Linked DNA regions of Homo sapiens: regions 1, 2 and 4 are each linked to region 3. The links are contacts of gene promoters, found by promoter capture Hi-C in human tissues and cell types (Jung and others, 2019). All regions are on one chromosome and are shown on one strand. Each heading gives the region's core, a stretch centred on a gene start or on the middle of the fragment in contact. The rest is flanking DNA. Distances are from core to core; before and after follow the strand shown. Region 1 has its middle 280 kb from the start of MAGI2. Region 2 overlaps LOC105375371 (a long non-coding RNA gene). Region 3 holds the start of MAGI2 (membrane associated guanylate kinase, WW and PDZ domain containing 2). Region 4 has its middle 310 kb from the start of MAGI2.

What was found. Contacts are between HindIII fragments. The study calls those that stand out against the background at their distance.
Region 1: a fragment that was not itself captured here is called in contact with the fragment with the promoter of MAGI2 in region 3 in 1 of the 25 tissues and cell types used here (IMR-90 fibroblasts).
Region 2: a fragment that was not itself captured here is called in contact with the fragment with the promoter of MAGI2 in region 3 in 2 of the 25 tissues and cell types used here (lymphoblastoid cells and mesenchymal stem cells).
Region 4: a contact is called between a fragment that was not itself captured here and the fragment with the promoter of MAGI2 in region 3, in 2 of the 25 tissues and cell types used here (mesenchymal stem cells and spleen).

What each region holds. Positions count from the first base shown.
Region 1 is chr7:79,732,490-79,737,251 of GRCh38, reverse strand. No RefSeq gene overlaps it. Among named protein-coding and RNA genes, the nearest start is that of MAGI2, 280 kb to the right of the region's middle. The HindIII fragment of the contact is 3,258 bases long and covers 1,194-4,451 here.
Region 2 is chr7:79,783,914-79,788,508 of GRCh38, reverse strand. All of the region lies in intron 2 of LOC105375371 (a long non-coding RNA gene), which reads right to left. Among named protein-coding and RNA genes, the nearest start is that of MAGI2, 330 kb to the right of the region's middle. The HindIII fragment of the contact is 3,352 bases long and covers 70-3,421 here.
Region 3 is chr7:79,450,294-79,455,102 of GRCh38, reverse strand. MAGI2 (membrane associated guanylate kinase, WW and PDZ domain containing 2) reads left to right here and starts at 1,436. Exons shown (of 22, transcript NM_012301.4): 1 at 1,436-2,083. The coding sequence starts at 1,783. It overlaps MAGI2-AS3 (MAGI2 antisense RNA 3), which reads right to left and starts at 2,146. Exons shown (of 4, transcript NR_038346.1): 1 at 1,912-2,146; 2 at 1,448-1,516. RefSeq lists an enhancer at 2,696-2,990. The HindIII fragment of the contact is 8,431 bases long and covers 1-3,558 here.
Region 4 is chr7:79,761,262-79,766,026 of GRCh38, reverse strand. No RefSeq gene overlaps it. Among named protein-coding and RNA genes, the nearest start is that of MAGI2, 310 kb to the right of the region's middle. The HindIII fragment of the contact is 7,009 bases long and covers 1-4,765 here.

The DNA.
Region 1 (4,762 bases), core at 1,573-4,072, 280 kb before region 3:
AATTTTAGCAAAATCTCGCTTACTTGAAGTTAGTATATGGAACTTCAAATATTCATAATCCAGTCAAGAAGTCTGAAGAAAACACCCTGCTCCACCAAAAAAAAAAAAAAAAGGAGAGGACACTCTAAGAAGCAAAGACTTATAATGACACAAAGTACTGAAAGTCTATGCTTAACAGACGGTAAGATTCAGTTGTTTGAAAATTTCCTTATATGGATTTATCTATGCCCAACAGTGCTGAATGAATAAAATATCACCATATTTATACAGCAAATAAATTGGAATTTTTAAGATTCTTTAGGTTGCATGTGAGATAAATGTCTATATTAAAATAAACTTGATGATATGCAAAAATGTTATTTTAATTAAATAATGCATAAATGGTAGGAGAATTAAATATGCACTTCAGATAATTTCAGATGCTTCCATTATATTACTATTCTTGACTTTATGAAGGAATTATAGAGAGCAACATATTCATAAATTATATCAGAAGTGAGTAAAGCAATTCAAGAAGTAATTGGCCTTACTAGTGTACCCACAGGGACACATTCCTCTAGAATAGTTAGACATAGTGGGAGATAGGAGCAAGGATAATTTGATCATGACAGTTGTTCGATACATAGAAATGCACATTCAGCAAATTGTGGAAGAATGAAAAAATAAGTCAGAAGAGAAAAACAGATTCTACAGTTTTACATTATAATATACGCTGAATATAGAAATGAATTTGAATCACACGCTTGAAATCTTTCTAGGCACCAGTGCCCTTGTGCCTACAGTTCTGCAAGATGCTCCTCAAAGACTTGCAGTTTGATTTTTTATGTATTTTTGAAATGTAGGAGAAAAAAGATCTTTTACCCATCACAAATTCATGCTCAAGACTCGTCTATCAAAAAACAGATTAACAAGTGAAAAGAATACAGATGTATTTAACACAAGTTTTACGTGACATGAGAGACTTCACAAATCAACATGGTAAGAAAGAGGGAAACCTGAATATTTTTATGGACTGTAATGCAGACGTGTGATTGGAAAAGAAGAGGGTATGGTAATAAACTGAGGGGAATTTGGCTAGCCTGTTTCTTCATACGTTCCTTATGTGTGGGTAGAGGGTGGACACCTCTGGAATAAAGGTTCTATGACCTACTTCAGATTCAGATAATTCTCTTATAGCCTGCTTTACGGGAGAGTAGCGAGAAGAAAGTGAGAATAAACTTCTGCTGCTGCTTCCTTGAATGCCAAAATGCCATATTTTAGAGTAATATGTCCTGAACTCGATCAGAGAATGGAAAGAAATATACAAACTAAAATATCTTTTCAGGCCACACAGAGATTATAATTCTTTTAGTGTTAAACTGAAATTTAAATTATTTCTTATTTCATCTTTATTCCATAAATTTTTTTAAATCCTATAAAAATATCTCATTGGTATGTTTTCTGTCTTCCTTTTTAGTATGTATGAAATTGATGAATATATTTCTGAATATATAAATTCCTGTAATTTTCTTCACATTGTTCAAAAGTACATCAGAAAAAAGCCATGGGTCATTTAATCTATGGAACATATTAAGAGGAATTAAAGACTGAAGATTTTGCGAACCTAAACTTTTAAGATAATTTTTTTCAAAATACTTATTTTTCCTTCAAATTTCTTTTGTCTTAACTTTTATTTTAGGTTCAGGGGTACATATGCAGGGTTTTTGTGTAGGTAAATTGTACATCACGAGGGGTTGGGGTACAGATTGTTTCATCACTCGGGTAATAAGCATAATACCTGATTGGTAGTTTTGTGATCCTCTCCCCTCTGCCACTCTCCACCCTCAAGTAGGCCTGTTATCTGTTGTTCCCTTCTTTGTATTCATTTGTACTCAGTGTTTTGCTTCCACTTATAAGTGAGAACATGTGGTATTTGGTTTTCTGTTCTTGTGTTAATTTGCTTAGGATAATGGCCTCCGGCTCCATCCATCTTGCTGCAAAGACATGATCTCATTCTTTTTATAGCTGCATAATATTCCATGATGTATATGTACCACAGTTTCTTTAACCAGTCTACTGTTGATGGGCATTTAGATTGATTCCATGTCTTTGATACAGTGAATAGTGATTATCATATATGTGCATGTGTCTTTATGGTAGAATGATTTATATTCCTTTGAGTTTACCCAATAATGAGATTGCTGGGTTGAATGGTAATTCTATTTTAAGTTCTTTGACAAATCACCACACTGCTTTCTACAATGGCTGAACTAATTTACATTCCCACTAGCAGTGTCTAAGTGTTCCCTTTTCTTAGCAACCTCACCAACATATTTTTTTTTAACTTTTTAATAATAGCCATTCTAACTGGTGGTATGGTATGTGCAGGTAGATAGTGTATATCTCTGGAATAAAGATTCTTATTGGTATCTCACTCATATTTTATGGTATTTCTTTGATGGCATCTCATTGTGGTTTTGATTTGCATATCTCTAATGATTAGTAATATTGAGCATTTTTTTCATATTTTTTTTGGCTGCATGTATGTTTTCTTTTGAGAAGTGTCTCTTCATGTCCTTTGCCTGCTTTGTAATGTTTGTTTTTTGCTTGTCAATTTGTTTAAGTTTCTTTTAAAATCTGGATATTAGACCTTTGTCAAATGCATAGTTTGCAAATATTTTCTCCCATTCTGTAGGTTGCCTGTTTACTTTGTTGATTGCTTTATTATTTAAATTGTCAGATAAAATTGCATGTATTTATCATGAACAACAGGATGTTTTGAAGAGTACATACATTATGAAATGGTTAAATCTACCTAATTATATATGCATTACCTCACATAGTTACCATTTTTGTGGTGAGAACACTTACTCACTGTGTTAGCATCTTTTAACAATAAAAAATATCATCACTAACTACAGTAACCATGCTGTACAATAGATCTCTTTATTCCTTCCATCTCACTGTAATTTGTGTCCTTTGACCAACATCCTCCCAAGTCCCTACTTGCAAAATGCCCCAGCCTCTACCAACAACCATTTTACTCTTTATTTCTATGGGATCAACTTTTTTACATTCTGCTCTGACCCTATATTATTTTTTTCCTTCTATTAATTTTTGACTTAGTTTGTTCTTGTTTTTTTTTTTCTTTTAGTTCCTTCAGGTGAAATGTTAAATTGCTTCTTTGAGAGCTTTTTTCTTTTTTGATATAGATATTTATTGCTATAAGCTTTCCTCTTGGAGCTGATTTTGCTGTATTACATAGGTTTTGGTATGTTGTGTTTCTAGGTTCATTTGCCTCCATTTATTTTTAAATTTCCCCTTTAATTTATTCTTTGACTCATTTGTGTTTTAAGAGCAATTCATTAATTTCCATGTGTTTCATGTGTTTCTAAATTTTCCAGAATTCCTTCTGTATAGATTTCTGCTTTCAAATTCTTGTGGTGAGAAATGATACTTTATTTATATATATATACAGACACACACATATATGTATTTACATGTATTTATATATATATGTATTTACCACTGTTATATTCTCTTGCTGTATTAACTCTTTTATTACATAAAAAACTTATTTGTTTCTTTTTACAGTTTTGACATAAAGTTTTGTTTATCTGATATAAAAATTGGTACTTCTGTTCCCTTTTGGTTTCTACTGACATGGAGTATTTTTTTTTTCAGCACCTTCACTTTCAATCTATATATGTCATTACGGATAAAATGAGTCTCTTGTAGGCAACGTATAGTTGGTTCTTGTTTTCAATTTATTCAGTCATGCTATATTTTTGGTTTGAAGAATTTAATCCCTTGATATTCAATGTTATTATTGATAGGTAGGGACTTACTACTGCCATTTTGTTAATTGCTTACTAGCTGCTTAGTAGCGCCTTTGTTCCTTTCCTCTTCCTTTATGGTAAAGTGATTTTTCATTAGCATTTCTTATAAGACAGGTGAGATGATGAACTCCCTCAGATTTTGTTTGTCTGGGAAAGTCTTTGTCTCTGCTTCATTTCTGAAGGAAAGCTTTCCTGGATACCACAGTCTTGATTGGCACCTTATTTTTCAGTATGTTATATATATCATTCCATTATCTCCTGGCTTGTAGGATTTCTATAAAGAAGTTGGCTTGTAGTTGTACTAAAACTGCCTTATATGCTATTTGCTTCTCTCTGCTTTCATGATTCTTTGTTTTGATTTTTGACAGTTTTATTATAATATGTCTTGGGGTAGTCTTATTTAGATTGAATTTGATTGAAGACTTCAAACTTTCCTGTGCCTGGATATTTATATCTTTCTTCAGTTTTGAAAAGTTCCCTATTATTTCTTTAAATAAGGTTTCTACACCTTTATCTTTCTTCTCTCTCTTGAATTTCAATAACTCATAAAAATTGCTCTTTTGATTCTGTCACATAAATCCTGCATGTCTGCTTTATTCTTTCTCATTACGTTTTTCTTTTAAAAAATATCTAACTGTATATTTTCAAATAACCTGTCTGAGTTTTCAGATTCCTTCTTCCGTTTAATCAAGTGCTGTTGATGTTCTCTACTGCATTTTTTCATTTGTTCATTGTATTTTTCAGCTCTAAGATTTTTGCTTTTAAAAAATTATTTCAATCTTCCCTTATATTTCTAATTATAATCACTTATTGTTTTCCTTATTTGTTTGAATTGTTTCTCTGCATTTTATGGAAATTTCCTTAGCTTCTATAAAACAGTATTTTTGTCAGGCTTTCATGCATCTCCATTTCTATAGGCTTAGTCACTGGCATTTTATTTTGTC
Region 2 (4,595 bases), core at 496-2,995, 330 kb before region 3:
GCTGTAGAAATTCACGTATATTGAAGAATGTAATGTTAATGTTTTAGGGAGAAGTTTGAAAGATAAAATGATATTTATATAACATATTAAATAATATTTATAATATATAAAATATATGAATTATTATATACCTGCCAAACATATTTATGCATATATACACATATATATATGTGTGTGTGTGTGAGGGTCAGTGTGTGTTTTTAATGCATTTATATATAGATACGAAGATACTATAAACTCAAAGCTTAATCCTTCTTAATCTTTAGAAGGATAAATTTACTTTCGGGAATAAAATAATTTATTTGTGTGAAAGCCCTCTGATTCATCAATAGGGAATATTAAGGAAAATTCATTAATCCATAGCAGCATGTCAATAGAAAAGGGATGCAGAATACCTTCTGGACAATCAAATTAAAAATATATGCACTTTTAGATGGTTTTCTTGTAATATCAGTCTGCTTTTATCATCTAGACCAGAGGAACTAACTTACTGGCAGAAAATTTCAGTTCTGAAAGTTGGTACTGTAGTAACACAGGAATGGTACGTTTTTGTCTCAGAAAAAGACAATCAAAGCAAAGTGCATGTTTCATGTAAACTGTCGCTCAGCATTTTGATATTCTGTTTTTCTGGTACAGAGAACTACTTTAAAAGATGATTCAGAAACCTCACAGAGAAAGAAATGGGAAAATTGTCAGCCTGTTGGCAATGTTAAGAAACCACAAATGGCTGATAAATAATCGCTGTCTATCATGCAGAGCCAAGAAAAAACAGAAAAACAAATGAAGAAAATCACAAAAACAACTGCAAGAAGCCAAAAAGAATGTGAGTCTTAACAGTAAAGAATGAAGTCTTATTGTGGAAGAAAAAAGTGCATGAACAGAAAGGATAGCGTGTAAGAAGATGAAATAAGAAACATAGCAGAATATAGTACAAAACATAGAGGTTACAAAGATCAGGTGAAATAAGGTGTATGACAGAAAGAAATAAACATGCAAGAGTAAAATGTAGCACAGATGCAAAATAATTAAAACAAGGAATATTATACCAACTTCTACTTAGACCCAAAGCTTTGTGAGACTGGCAATAGCAGGATGCTGAGATATTTGCTATCTTCTGAATCTCAGCTGCAACCAGCACAGCTATTTTTCTCAAGTTATGAAACGAATATTCCAGCTGGAGAGATCATTAAAGGCTTGCTGTCATTTTGAATTTACTTGATCCTTCAGTGAACATATCAATTAAGACACTCTGCCTAAATAAAAAAGAGACCCTTTACTTGGGAACTGTCATTACAGCCATGTCTGTGGACCCTAGAGCCAACTCTGTAGTGTCATCGATAATAGCATGAAACTCTAGAGCCATAGTGTCTGGGTTCATATACTACTTTTGCCATTTATTTCCTATGTGACCTTTGACAAGCAGTGATACCTCTTATCACCTCAGAGTTCTCATTTGTGAAAAGGAAGCAATTAGGCTATCTCATGAAGTTATGACAGGGATTAAATGTATTGAGTTATATAAAGTATTGGAATAATGTATGTCACATACTAAGCACTATCTGCTTATTAAAGGAATAACTACAACTGTATATGCCTATTAGTGGTACTCTCTTATTCATTCAATGAATACTTATTGAGCACCTGCTATTTGCATTATTCCAGGAACTTTGGATTCGGTTGTTAATAAAATGGACATAAATCCTTATCTTTTTGGAAATGACATTCATAGGTATATTTTAGTAGAAATATTCTAGGTATAAAGATGATAATAATATCTCATTAGGCTCTGTTCCAATTTCTTTAGATATATTATTGTTATGGACTGAATCTATGTATTCCCCCAAAATTCATATATCGAATATGGCCACCCCTAACCTCCACAGTGGCCATATTGGAGTAAGGAAATAATTAAGGTTAAATGAGTGAAGTGGGGACCTGATCTGATAGAATTCGTTTACTTACAAAACAATACACAAGAGCTTTCTCTATCTCTCTCTCTTTCTGTCTCTCTCATCTCACTCTGTGTGCATGCAAGGCCATGTGAGGATGCAGTGAGAAGGCACCATCTGCAAGCCAGGAAGAGGGTTCTCACCAGAAACTGAACCCTGCCTGAACCGTGATCTTCAACATTCCAGCCTCCAGAACCAAGAGAAAATAAATCTCTGTTGTTTACGACAGCCAGTCTGTGGCGTTTTGTTACGACAGTATGAGCAGACTAAGACAATTATCAACCATGACAAGTAGTTTCTATTCCATATCCCATTCCATAGATAAAGAAAGTGAGTTGCAGAAATATTAGCTAAGATATCAAATACCTGTATGTTTCTAAGTACTTGTCTTTCTTCCCATTTTTAATCTGTTTTTTATTTGGTATTTATTTATTCATCTATTCATTCATTTATTCAACAAACAGCTATGAATATTTTCTGGCAGACCATGAGTTCAAAGCCAGAAATTCTGGCTTCAGAATTCCTCCTCTTAATCAGTTCATTTTGCTGCCTCAATTAACAATTTGCCAAAGCTGGAAAAAATTTCAGCCGTGTTGAGCTTATTACAGACTTCTAATTCCCATTTGTTTTCCAATTCAAGGATAATATCTAGTGTTGGATTACAAAATACTTGAATAAATTAGTATCGTCTGAGTAGTATTCCTCATTCTCTAATACAGTGCACTGAAACAGTCATAATGGCACGAAACTCTACCTTCTAAATATCTCTTGAACACATCATTCCCACCCAGTTTCCATTCCTGTGGCCTTGGTTCGTGTTCTCATTACTGTCAAGTCCAGAGATGTATGTTTCAGTCACATCAATTTCTTAGCCAGCCTTTCTTTCTTTATGCTTGTTTCATAATGTAACTCAAAAGCATGTGTCTGAATGTTTATCTCATACCTATAACCTTTAACTGTTCAGAAGATATTGAATCCCTGACTCATTATAATGGCAAGCAAACCCTTTCATTATTTTCCTCTCACTTAGTTCTCTAACACAGTGCCTGGCTTGGAATGATATCAGTTCTTCAAAATATTACTTAGATGTTAGTTCAGAAAACATTTCCTGCTCAATCCCTCTGAATGTATTACATTTCCCACACCTTGTATATTTTCCCATCCTGTCATTATTACTCAGTATTAAAAATTTACTTGTTTATCTGATACTTCTAATAGATTGAACTTCCTTTGGGCAGGTTTTGTGCCTCATTCATTTTTATATGCCTAGGTTTAGCATAATATTTGGCACAGACTAGTTCAATAAATGATTGTTCAATTAAATAGTATCAGGACAACCCCTGAGGAAATAGACACCCAATAATATAATTGTTCCATTAGCTATTACTAATTTTTACTCATCTGATCATTATTTACAATAAGGAATAAGTTGGTGTCAAAGACAAAAACATTACTATTTCTCTCAAAGGATTTAATTGTTTTGTTTTTTTCAGACTGACATAAAAATGGGTATTTGGTAGATCTTCCTACCTAGCAGTTTTCAGATAAACAATTTGGAAGAATAACCAGCAATCAAAGTCTCATCATCTCTGCCTATCTCATATTCATTTGAAAAATTTAAAAGCCAGTGCCAATGTATGGAATAAATAGTTATTAGGCAAGCACATAAATACAAATATTGTCACCTCTAGGACTTCACATCGGTGAAGAACACAACTGTAAAAATCACTCTTAGATTGTAAACAGCAGGGATTTAATACAAGGAACTGGTTTTGGAGGTAAGGAATGAAAAAGCTGAAATACTAAACAGGAAATCTGTAAGGTTACCCAGAGATTAAGAAGCAATACTACTACAACCCTTAGGACTGAGTGCCAAAGGGAACAAGTAGTGTCACCAGAATTCAGAGATCATAATAATCTAGGGGAAGCTGGAATCAGGGTGGGCTTTTCTAGAGGGAGATAGAGGCTGGGAAGAAGCACAGCTTTTGCCAAAGACACCATTTTAGACAGAAAATAGAGAGAGGAATATATCCTTGACTGACCCTTTCTCTCACTCTCTCACCTCCTGACAATGTCTGTCATTGACTGAACCCAGGTGGAGACCCACTAGCATGGATCCCAGAGAATGCAGAGTTCAGTGACTGTCTTTCCTTTTCCTGTGATACACAACAAAGCATAGAAATTTTGACATTTCTACAAGGAGAACTACAAAACACTGCTGAAAGGAATCAGAGATGACAAAAATAAATGGAAAAACATTCTATGCTCATGGTTTGGAATAATCAATATCATTAAAATGACCATACTGCCCAAGACAATTTACAGATTCAATGCTATTCTTTTCAAACTAACGAGGTCATTCTTCACAGAATTAGAAAAAAAACTATACCAGAATTCATATGAAACCAAAAAAGAGCCCAAATAGCTAAAGCAATGCTAAGTAAAAAGAACAAAGCAAGAGGCATCACACTACCCAACTTTAAACTGCATTATAAAGCTATGGTAACCAAAACAGCACGGCACTGGTACAGAAAAGAGAAATATAGACCAATGGAACAGATTAGAGAGCCCAGAAATAAAGTCGCACACTTAAACAACTATCTGATCTTTGACAAGGCTGACAAAAACAAGCAATGGGGAATGACT
Region 3 (4,809 bases), core at 187-2,686:
TTTTCATCCTCCGCTTTAAAGAGATAAGTGGGTGCACAACTTTTTTTTTGCCTGAAACATATCATCTAAAAGTTAAGCAAATGAAATTCATTTACCAGTTACAGGAATCTTTTTCTTAAATCACTGTTAATGTCTCACAGGAAATTAGCTCTTCAGTGGAAATCAGCAGCCTCCCTGCATCCTTTTGCCCCTGTCCTCCCCTCTCTTGGATGCAAACCTGGCGAAAAGAAGGGAACACTGCTTGGGGTCAGCGAGCTGAGTTCCAGCTCCGAATGTACCATTTTCACCCTCGGGAGTCTTCTCCCCTTTCTCTGTGAGCAAAGGAGTGTTGGGCCAGACCGTCTTAAGGATTCTTCCCCAGGTACAAGCCGGACTCTGGCGGCTTTCCTGGGCAAGGGAGTGTCTCCGCCTTGTCTCTGCCGCAGGTCCCTGGTTAAATTGTCAATTTCTCTGCGGAGGCTGCTCACTGCATCCGCTCCCTCCACCCCTAGCCCTGTAGACCCCTTCTCTTTCCCCTACTTGGGAAAAGTGAAGCCCCTTATCCTTGGATAGCCTTTCACCAGACAACCGCAGCCGTCCGCTAAATTCCCCTACTGGCGGGACGCGCGGGCGGGGGCCTGCCCCGGGGAATGCGAGGCTGCTTCCCTTCTGCGTAATCAGGGTACGCAGCCTCCAGTTCTCTAACTTTCTCCTTCTCTAAGAGGGAATTTCGAGAACTTTAAGACAAATAAGTGACTATATAGATGAAGACATGAAACCTCTCTACACAGTGAACTCCCCCACGCTACAAGGCTCCCAGGGATCCCAGGCCTTCTCCCGCAATGCCCCGCCGGGTCCCCCGCCCCAACTCCTTCTCACGGCAGGATCCCGCGCCAGGACGCTCGCAGAGCCCGAGATGTGGCACCAGGCGCGCCACAAGTCCAGGTCCCGCTATTTCTGCTCCATCGGAGCCCAGGTCGGAGGGAGTCAGCGCGTCCTCCTCGCACAGGAGCCTGGCGCGCGGCTCGGTCGCACAGAGGCTGAAGAAAGGTCCGCACTGGGCTCGAGGCCCTTCCTGCCGGCCTCCCCACGCCGGGCCTAGGCTCCCCTCCTTCCCGGCTCCCGCCTCCTCCCGTAGGCTGCCAGGCGGACCCAGCCTGCCTCTCTCTCTGCCTTCACTACCGGGTCAAGCTGCGGAGGGAGGGAGGGAGGCAGCGGCGAAGCCCTCCGTGGCTCCCCACCCGGCGCGCGCGCCCCTCCTCCCCTGCCTCCTCCCGTCTGCCAGTACAGTAGAACTAGTACACACACACACACACACACACACGCACACGCACCCTGCCACTGCAGCTGCCATGGATATCAGCTAACAACACACACCCAGGCGCGCGCGCGCGTTCCCACTCGCACCACGCAGGAGTGGCCCCCGGCATCCCTACCCTCCTTCCCCACCCCCACCACACCCGCTCACCAGCTCGGCTACTGCTCGCTCCGGCTGCCGCCGCCGCCGCCGCCGACGCCACCACCACTGCTTCCTCTGCTGCGGGGCCACAGCCTTGAGTGTCATTCAAGGGACAGCACAACCTCATCCAAGCTCTCCTACCTCTGCCCAGCCGTCCCTCTCATCCTCCCCATTCCTCGTCCACACTCCATCCAAAGAAGAGGGAAAGCACCGAATAGAGGGGGGCGAAGGCAAAGTCTGCTGTTCTTCCCCCTGGGCCCCCTTGCTCCTCCATCCTCATTCTCTCACCACCAGCCCCCCTAACCCCAAGGAGCCCAGGAACTGAGGCGACTCGCCCCACTGCCATGTCCAAAAGCTTGAAAAAGAAAAGCCACTGGACTAGCAAAGTCCATGAGAGTGTCATTGGCAGGAACCCGGAGGGCCAGCTGGGCTTTGAACTGAAGGGGGGCGCCGAGAATGGACAGTTCCCCTACCTGGGGGAGGTGAAGCCCGGCAAGGTGGCCTATGAGAGCGGCAGCAAATTGGTGTCGGAGGAGCTGCTGCTGGAGGTGAACGAGACCCCCGTGGCGGGGCTCACCATCAGGGACGTGCTGGCCGTGATCAAACACTGCAAGGACCCCCTCCGGCTCAAGTGTGTCAAGCAAGGTGAGAGCAGCGGCTTGCTCAGTGTTTTGCCGGGCGGTGGGACCGCTCGGGGCGCAGGGCAATGAAAGGGTGGCCGCGCATGTTGAAGGGGGTGTGTTGCGCGATGATGGGGTGGGGGCCAGAGAGCACCCGCAGTGCAAGTGAGTTTCGCCGGGGATTCGACTTGGGGGCTAAAGGGAGGGGAGGGGCAGGTTGTGGTGTGGCGTGCAACTTTGTTTGCTCAGTTAGACCCTCCCCTTTGGAAGGTGCTCGGCCTGGTCTGACCTCCTCAGAGCTGCTGGGGCAAATTGAATGTGCGTCAGTGGCATCACCCGAAGCGGATGAAGAGCTTTTGGGGAAGGGAGGAAGGAAGAAAAGAAAGAAAGAATGGGAGGAAGGGAGGGAAAGAAGGAAGGAGCAACTTCAGGGTGCAGCGGCATCACCAGCGGGTCTGGGAAGAGAAGGTGGTGGGGTGAGCGGAGAACTGCGTCCAGCGTTTCTGGGGCTGGGCTGGGGGCGCCTGGGTCCCCAGCTGTCCCTTAGGGATCCGTGAGCCACCGCTGGCGAAGAAAAGAAGGGACAAATTGCTTTGGGCGCTTTGACGGGTCTTCTGTAACTTTTCCCCTTCTTCACTCCGTGTCCCCCTCCCCCGCTCACGGTCGTGTCATGTGGGCATCGCGCGTCACGTGCGTACTGACTAACCCCTGCGCTCACCCCTAGCCAGCCCGGGGGAGGAGGCTCCGGAAGAAGGCGCGGTGCTAGGAGCGCAGTCTAGTGCTGGGCGGGGGTCGGAGGAGATGAATGGTTGTCGGAGGAGATGAATGGTTGTCCGCATGGACTTTACTCAGGGGTTGCCCTCATTGAGTGGAAGTCCTCTGTGGTTGGGCTCTCCTCTGGCTCCGATTTGGGGGGCGTGTTTTGGGGGAGGAGCTGGATGAAACCCTGGCCGGTTCCAGCCCAGGCTCCCTCAGCTCCAACCTGACTTAAATGAACCTCAATTGGAGGCTGTGATGTGGATTTGGGGAGATTGGAATCATCCAGAACTCCCTGTCTTTGCTCGAAAGAAAATTATGGTGCAGAAGGAGAGAAGAGTGAGATAAAAGTTTGAATAGAGGACAACTTTAAGTAGAATAAAGTAGTAGCTTTTTTCTTTTCTGTTTTCTTTTTTAGCTCACTGCACAATTCGTGTGCGGTATGTATGGATATTTGCGTCACAGGCATATTAGCATAAGGGTTTGTTGTTGTCGTCGATGTACACTGTTTGTCCTGACTCAAAGGTGGAATTGAGCATGTCATTACCTGCATTTTGCCGCTTAATCATGATCAACTACTAAGAAATGCTTTTACGGAGATGTACCGCACTGTTAAATTATTCTCTAAAAAACTTGTTTTAAAATAAACAAGATAAAAAGAAGTACTGGGCAAGGTTTCTTAAATGTAAATTGCCATACAAGAAAATGTTTTCCTTGGGTATTCTTGAGTATTAAGAGGTAATAAATTGAGATAGGTTATTATAAGTCAACATAGCTCCATACTATTTAACACTGAAGGGATATGAGTTTGGTAGGAAGGAAAATAGAGTAACTTGATATTTTTGAAGATAAGATACCTAAGGTTCAAATACAGAGATTCATGTTAACATGTTCGATGTCAAAATACCACCTTATAGGAATAGACATAAATGGAAAGATCTTTGGGTACGAAAAGTCTACTACACAACTAATGACCATGGTTTTGTTGGCCAAATGCTTGATATTTGTCATGGAACGTGGCTGCAAAAGTTAAGCGTTGTTAAATTGGACTTAATAGAGTCCCACAAACGGATGCCCTATTATAGTTTGCAATGATCATCACATCTTAAATGTTGTGTTCAATTCTGAGCACTCCTTGTTGAGGCGGACGTTGGCAAACTGTCACGCTAGCAAAGAGTAAGTTCAAAAGAGAAATAAAGGAAGATTATTGTGTATTATAGATGTATTCTATGAAATGCCGTGGAAAGACTTAACGTGGAGAAGTGAAAGAATGAAAGCTATCATTAAATAGCGAAAAGCTATCAGGTAAGAAAAGGAATTCTGACTATCCTGTGATAGCCCACAGGACAAAATGGTGATAAATCTATGAGAAATTTGAAAGGATGAAGCAGCTTTACTTTCATTAAATCATGAGCTTTCTAACAGAGTTTTCCAAAAATTTGTGAGCACCCTGTTGGCTGAAGTTCCCATCATTGTGGGTATCCATGAAGAGGCTGAAATGACCATATGCCAGGGATTCCTATATAAGATGAGGACCTGGATTAGATATTATTTGAATCTTGCCATAATTTGATCTAATGTGGTTGGAGATCACTCTTGTATTGAATTTTATGTGGAAGATTATTGCTTTTAGAACTCAGAATATATGCTTCTAAAGTGATATATTGAGGGGAAAGTCTCTTTTCATTCTATATTAACCCTCAGTTTCGTGCTTCACTGGTTCATTGATGATAAATTTGTATAATGATAGCCAGAGAGCCCACAGTTGGTTCATCTCCTGAACCACTGCTGACCAAAAACAAAACAAAACAAAATATTTCTTTTACCTTTTGTGGAATAATTAATTCTCTTGTATATTCTTTTAAATATGATTCATGTTGCTATTCTAATAATTCTTTTCCTCGTCAAATCATAGATTAATTTTATTTATGATTATAAAAAATGAAATTTTTCAGAACCTTTACTATAGTGCCTGTGTGTCTTAGGTTTCAATAC
Region 4 (4,765 bases), core at 303-2,802, 310 kb before region 3:
CATTTAATTTATGAAGAAAAAAAGTGAATGCCTTTGAAATCTTTGCTACAAACTTAGGTGGACTCAAAAACAAAATCTGTGCTACAAGTATATTTCACAGCTTTCTATTAGACGACTTTCATTCCTGTAACCGTTTCAATTTTCTTCACAGTTTAAAGAAAAATATTGGATTTGCCTCTACATAAGACTATATCTGTTCATAAAGTCCACCTAGATTAGCTGAACCAGTAAAATTAATCAAGGATTAAAATTAATACCTACATATAGGCACAATCTAAGTTGGTTGATTACTACTGACATATAAATCTGCATTTGTTCTTGTGACTCGAGTCTTGAGAAAATTTGAGAGCTCTTGGGAGGTTGAAGAAAACTTGTTAAGATTGGTGAAGTTGTGGAGAACACGAAAAAAACAAAAACAAGAGTTCAAATAGCCAAACACTTTATTGGCAACCATTTTTTTGATCTACAGCAGTGAGTGATTTGAAGTGAAGTCTGGTGATGAACTGTTTGGGAACAAACATCTCATCCACCAGAAGTCAGCATGACAAACCAAATTGATGGAAGCAGAAAGGGTCTGAGAGGAATTCAAAATGGTACCACGACTCCCAGCAAATTGGACTGAAGTCCTCTGCTTGGCCTGGAAGTAATGAGAAATGAGACCTGACTGAAAAGACTATTTGAGCACAGTGGCTACAAATATTGAGTGGTAAAATAAGGTCTGAAGGCCAGTTTCCTCATTGTGTGCCCTAAAGACTACAGTTACATAGAAACATTAGGAACAAAGAAACGTCATGTTTGAAAATAGCAAAATTTTAACAGACCTGAATAAGAAGTGAAGAAGAAACTTCCAGGGGAGCCTCCAGTGGCTCAGGATCAGCTCTTCATAAAACACCAGAGTAGTGGGGATTGAAAACTGTTTGTGCTTTTCCAAGATTTTGCAGCATTGAAAGGGTAATGCTTTCCTGGAATAGACGTTCACTTTCTTAAAATTCAAAGCTCGTATAGGGTTCTTCGCTTTGCCGTCTCTTTCAAATCATGCAGAATCACCCAATCCTAGTTATATTATAATGTGTTGGCCAGAAAATTGCTATTGTCCACTAATTTTGTTCAAGTGTCCAGTTGGTTCATCTAGCACTTCTTAAATATTTGATAAGTTTTTTCCAGGAAACTGGCATTTTTTTTTCTGTCTGGATCTGTATCTCCCTCTGTCATTGCACGTAGGTCTAAATATACATGGCCAAATATGTGTATGTTTGTATATATTAATCCCACTACCCAAAGACCATCAGAAACATACCTATTATAGTCAAACACATTTATGTGTATTAATTTGCTACAGTAAGGAAAATCATGCACCATGGAAATTGTGGAGAGGGAATTAAGAGGGACTTATGATAGGATTATTATAAATTCAATCTTATTCGGGATAATTTGAGGGAAAGTTTAAGGAACTATTGGTTTGTTTGGAATTAGGTACTGTCAGGTAGTAGAACCAATTTGTATTAATTTGAATAGGAGGTGGGAGATGCTAAGTTGGGCTGGAATTGTCACTGGAGAAGAAGCAGTAGTCATTCATATTTGCCAGGAGAGAAGGATATTTGTCATTGTGATGTTTGCACTTGTGGTGTGTTGTCTTGTTCCAGTTTGGTGACAGAGTGATCTCATCTGATGCTAACATTCTCTGAAATTGTTAATGCCCAGCAGGGCACACCACAGCATGGTCATGAGCTGCCAAGCTGGCTACAAGCTATCAGCAGCTATACAATTTTTTCTCAGCAGCTATATTTTTTACCGGAAGCACTAGCTAATTAAACTTTAATTTCATAGTAGCTTAATTAAAACCTTCTTAATGTAGAATGGATAAATCTGAGATGAGTCTTATAAGCAAGTAAGAAGAGACTTCATAATCATCTAACAGATCGGTACCTCTATGCTTAGTCAAATAGATAGATATGAACGTACAGTAAGGGATGCTGCAATAATGTTTTGCCACACATTTTGTGAAACATTGAAGTATAATTTTTTAAAGACACAATTTTAAAAGAAAAGAAAAGAAAATTAAAAACACAATATTAGGCTTTGAGGAATTTAGGATCTATTAAAAATTGTAAGTAGCCACTAATTTAAGGTGCAAGATTTTTGAGTAGATCAAGATAATGTGTGAAGAGTGCTTTAAACATTTGATGTGCAAATAGAAGGCATTTTTTCTTTATTAATATTAAATGCAGTCTAGTCTTTAGACTGGGGTTGGGGGAAGACTAATATTATGTAAAGTTGAACTTTTTTTAAGTTTAGAATTCAGTTCTATTTCGATGATTTGGATGAAACTTTAAAAATTTTGTAATTTAAAAGCAAGTCAGTCTGGTAAATTAAAACTATCAGCAACAGGAAAATGTAGATTCCCCACCAAAACTTATACATTTATCTTCTGGGTGAGTTTTATCCATTTCTCCTTACAGAGTTTCATGAAAGCTTTATGTTATAACCATGAAATGGACTTATTAAACCCTAGGATTAGAGTGTATCATATGTCATGCAGATAGCTGCCAAGAAGTACCCAGAGAAAAAAATAATTTGTAGGGCACCTTGTGGTACTATAACTTCAAATATTTCCTTATACTGCCTCCAAAGGTAAAAGTGAAGAGAAATTACTGGAAATTATTGGCAAAAAAAGTAACTTGTTATACTTACAGGATATGCTTGAAAGTTCTGTCTAAAAAGGACAACCATAAAAGTTAGTTTTACAATTTCTTTGGTAATGTCTTAGAACCTCTACTGCAATATGGGTTTTATATGTATGGTAGTTATTTACATTATACTTAAACTACGAGATATATACGTTTGCTGAAACTGGTTTTGAGAAACAATATCTGGCAGAAAAAAAGGAAATCTTTTATGATATTTTTTTTGGTCATGGTTGCTTCCTTGCCATCCTAATTTTGATGAATTTTTGTAAAATTAATTATCCTTATATACTCACATATATGTACATATTGTCAATATGGCATGATACTACGATACCATCTGTTTTAACCTTCTGGCTATGCCAGTAAAATACATATTATGGTCTTATAAGTTCAATGCCCCTGTGAACCTATAACCTTCTAATTTGATCTGCTTCCACTGAAGGTTCATTCAGTCTCTTTTCAAACTCTTAGATTAATGACATTTCTAAACAGAGGGAGTTTAAGGAACCCTAGGTAAAAAGTCAGCAACTTGGCTTCAAACAGAATTTGCAGTGCACCTATCTGATATTCATTTAATCAGAACTTCAACCACCAATTTATGTCTTTTGCTGTGCGATTTCAGCTAGCTGACGGTACCTGGTTCTTCTCAACCATGAAAATTCTCTTGAAGACATCAAGATTGGAAAGAAAAAAATTATCTTTATTTGCAAATGACATGACCTTATGAAAAATTCTAAGGATCCACTAAAATACTATTAGAACTAATGTAGATTTAGCAAAGTTGTGGGGTACAAGATCAATATACAAAAATTAATTATATTTTTATATACAAGTGATCCAAAGTGAAATTTAGAAAACAATTCCATTTAAAAGAGCATCAACAAGAATAAAATGCTTCTGAATATACTAAATGGCTATCCCTGACCCGACCTGGTGGTCTTTCTCTACCCACCCTGGTAGCCAAAGGAAAAGGTCATAATCTTTTGGGAGCTCTATGGCCCTGCCCACCACCTGAGAAAACTGAATACACTTGTCCCTAGGGCAAGTTTGCAACCTCCTTATAAGTCTGCAGCTGATGCACTCTTGAAACCTCCACTTCCTGGCTGGAGGCCAACAAACACAAAACCAGTGCACTAAACAAAAACACAACCAAGGACCCTCACAGAGTCCAATTCACTCCCCTACTACCTCCACCGGAGCAAATGCTGGTATCCATGGCTGCAAGAACTGAAGACAGATAACATCACAGGACTCTGTGCAGATACTCCCCAGCACCAGCCTGGAGCCCAGTAGCTAGATCCAGAAGAGCAAAAACAATTATTAGAGTTTGGCTCTCAGGAAGCCCCATTCCTAGGGGAAGGGGAAGAACACCACACCAAGTGAGCACCCCATGACAAAATAATCTGATTGTGGTGGATAAGCTTTTTGAAATGCTGCTGGATTCAGTTTGCCAGTATTTTACTGAGGTTTTTTGCATCGATGTTCATCAGGGATATTGGCCTGAAGTTTTCTTTTTTTGTTGTGTCTCTGCTAGGTTTTGGTTTCCGGATGATGCTGGTCTCGTAAGATGAGTTAGGGAGGAGACAGTTCTTTTCAATTGTTTGCAATAGTTTCAAAAGGAATGGTACCAGCTCCTTTTTGTGTCTCTGGTAGAATTCAACTGTGAATCCGTCTGGTTCTGGGATTTTTTTCATAGATAGTCTATTAATTGCTGCCTCAATTTCAGAACTTGTTGTTGGTCCATTCAGGGATTTGACTTCTTCCTGGTTTAGCCTTGGGATGGTGTATGTGTCCAGGAATTAATACATTTCTTCTAGATTTTCTAGTTTATTTGTATAGAGGTGTTTATAGTATTCTGTCATGGTAGTTTGTATTTCTGTGGAGTCAGTGGTGATAACCGCTTTATCCCTTTTTATTGTGTCTATTTGATGTTTCTCTCTTTTCTTCTTTATTATTCTAGCTAGCGGTCTATCTATTCTGTTGATTTTTTCAAAAAAAAAAAAAAACAGATCCTGGATTCATTGATTTTCTTGAAGGGTTTTTCGTGTCTCTATCTCCTTCAGTTTTGCTCTGATCTT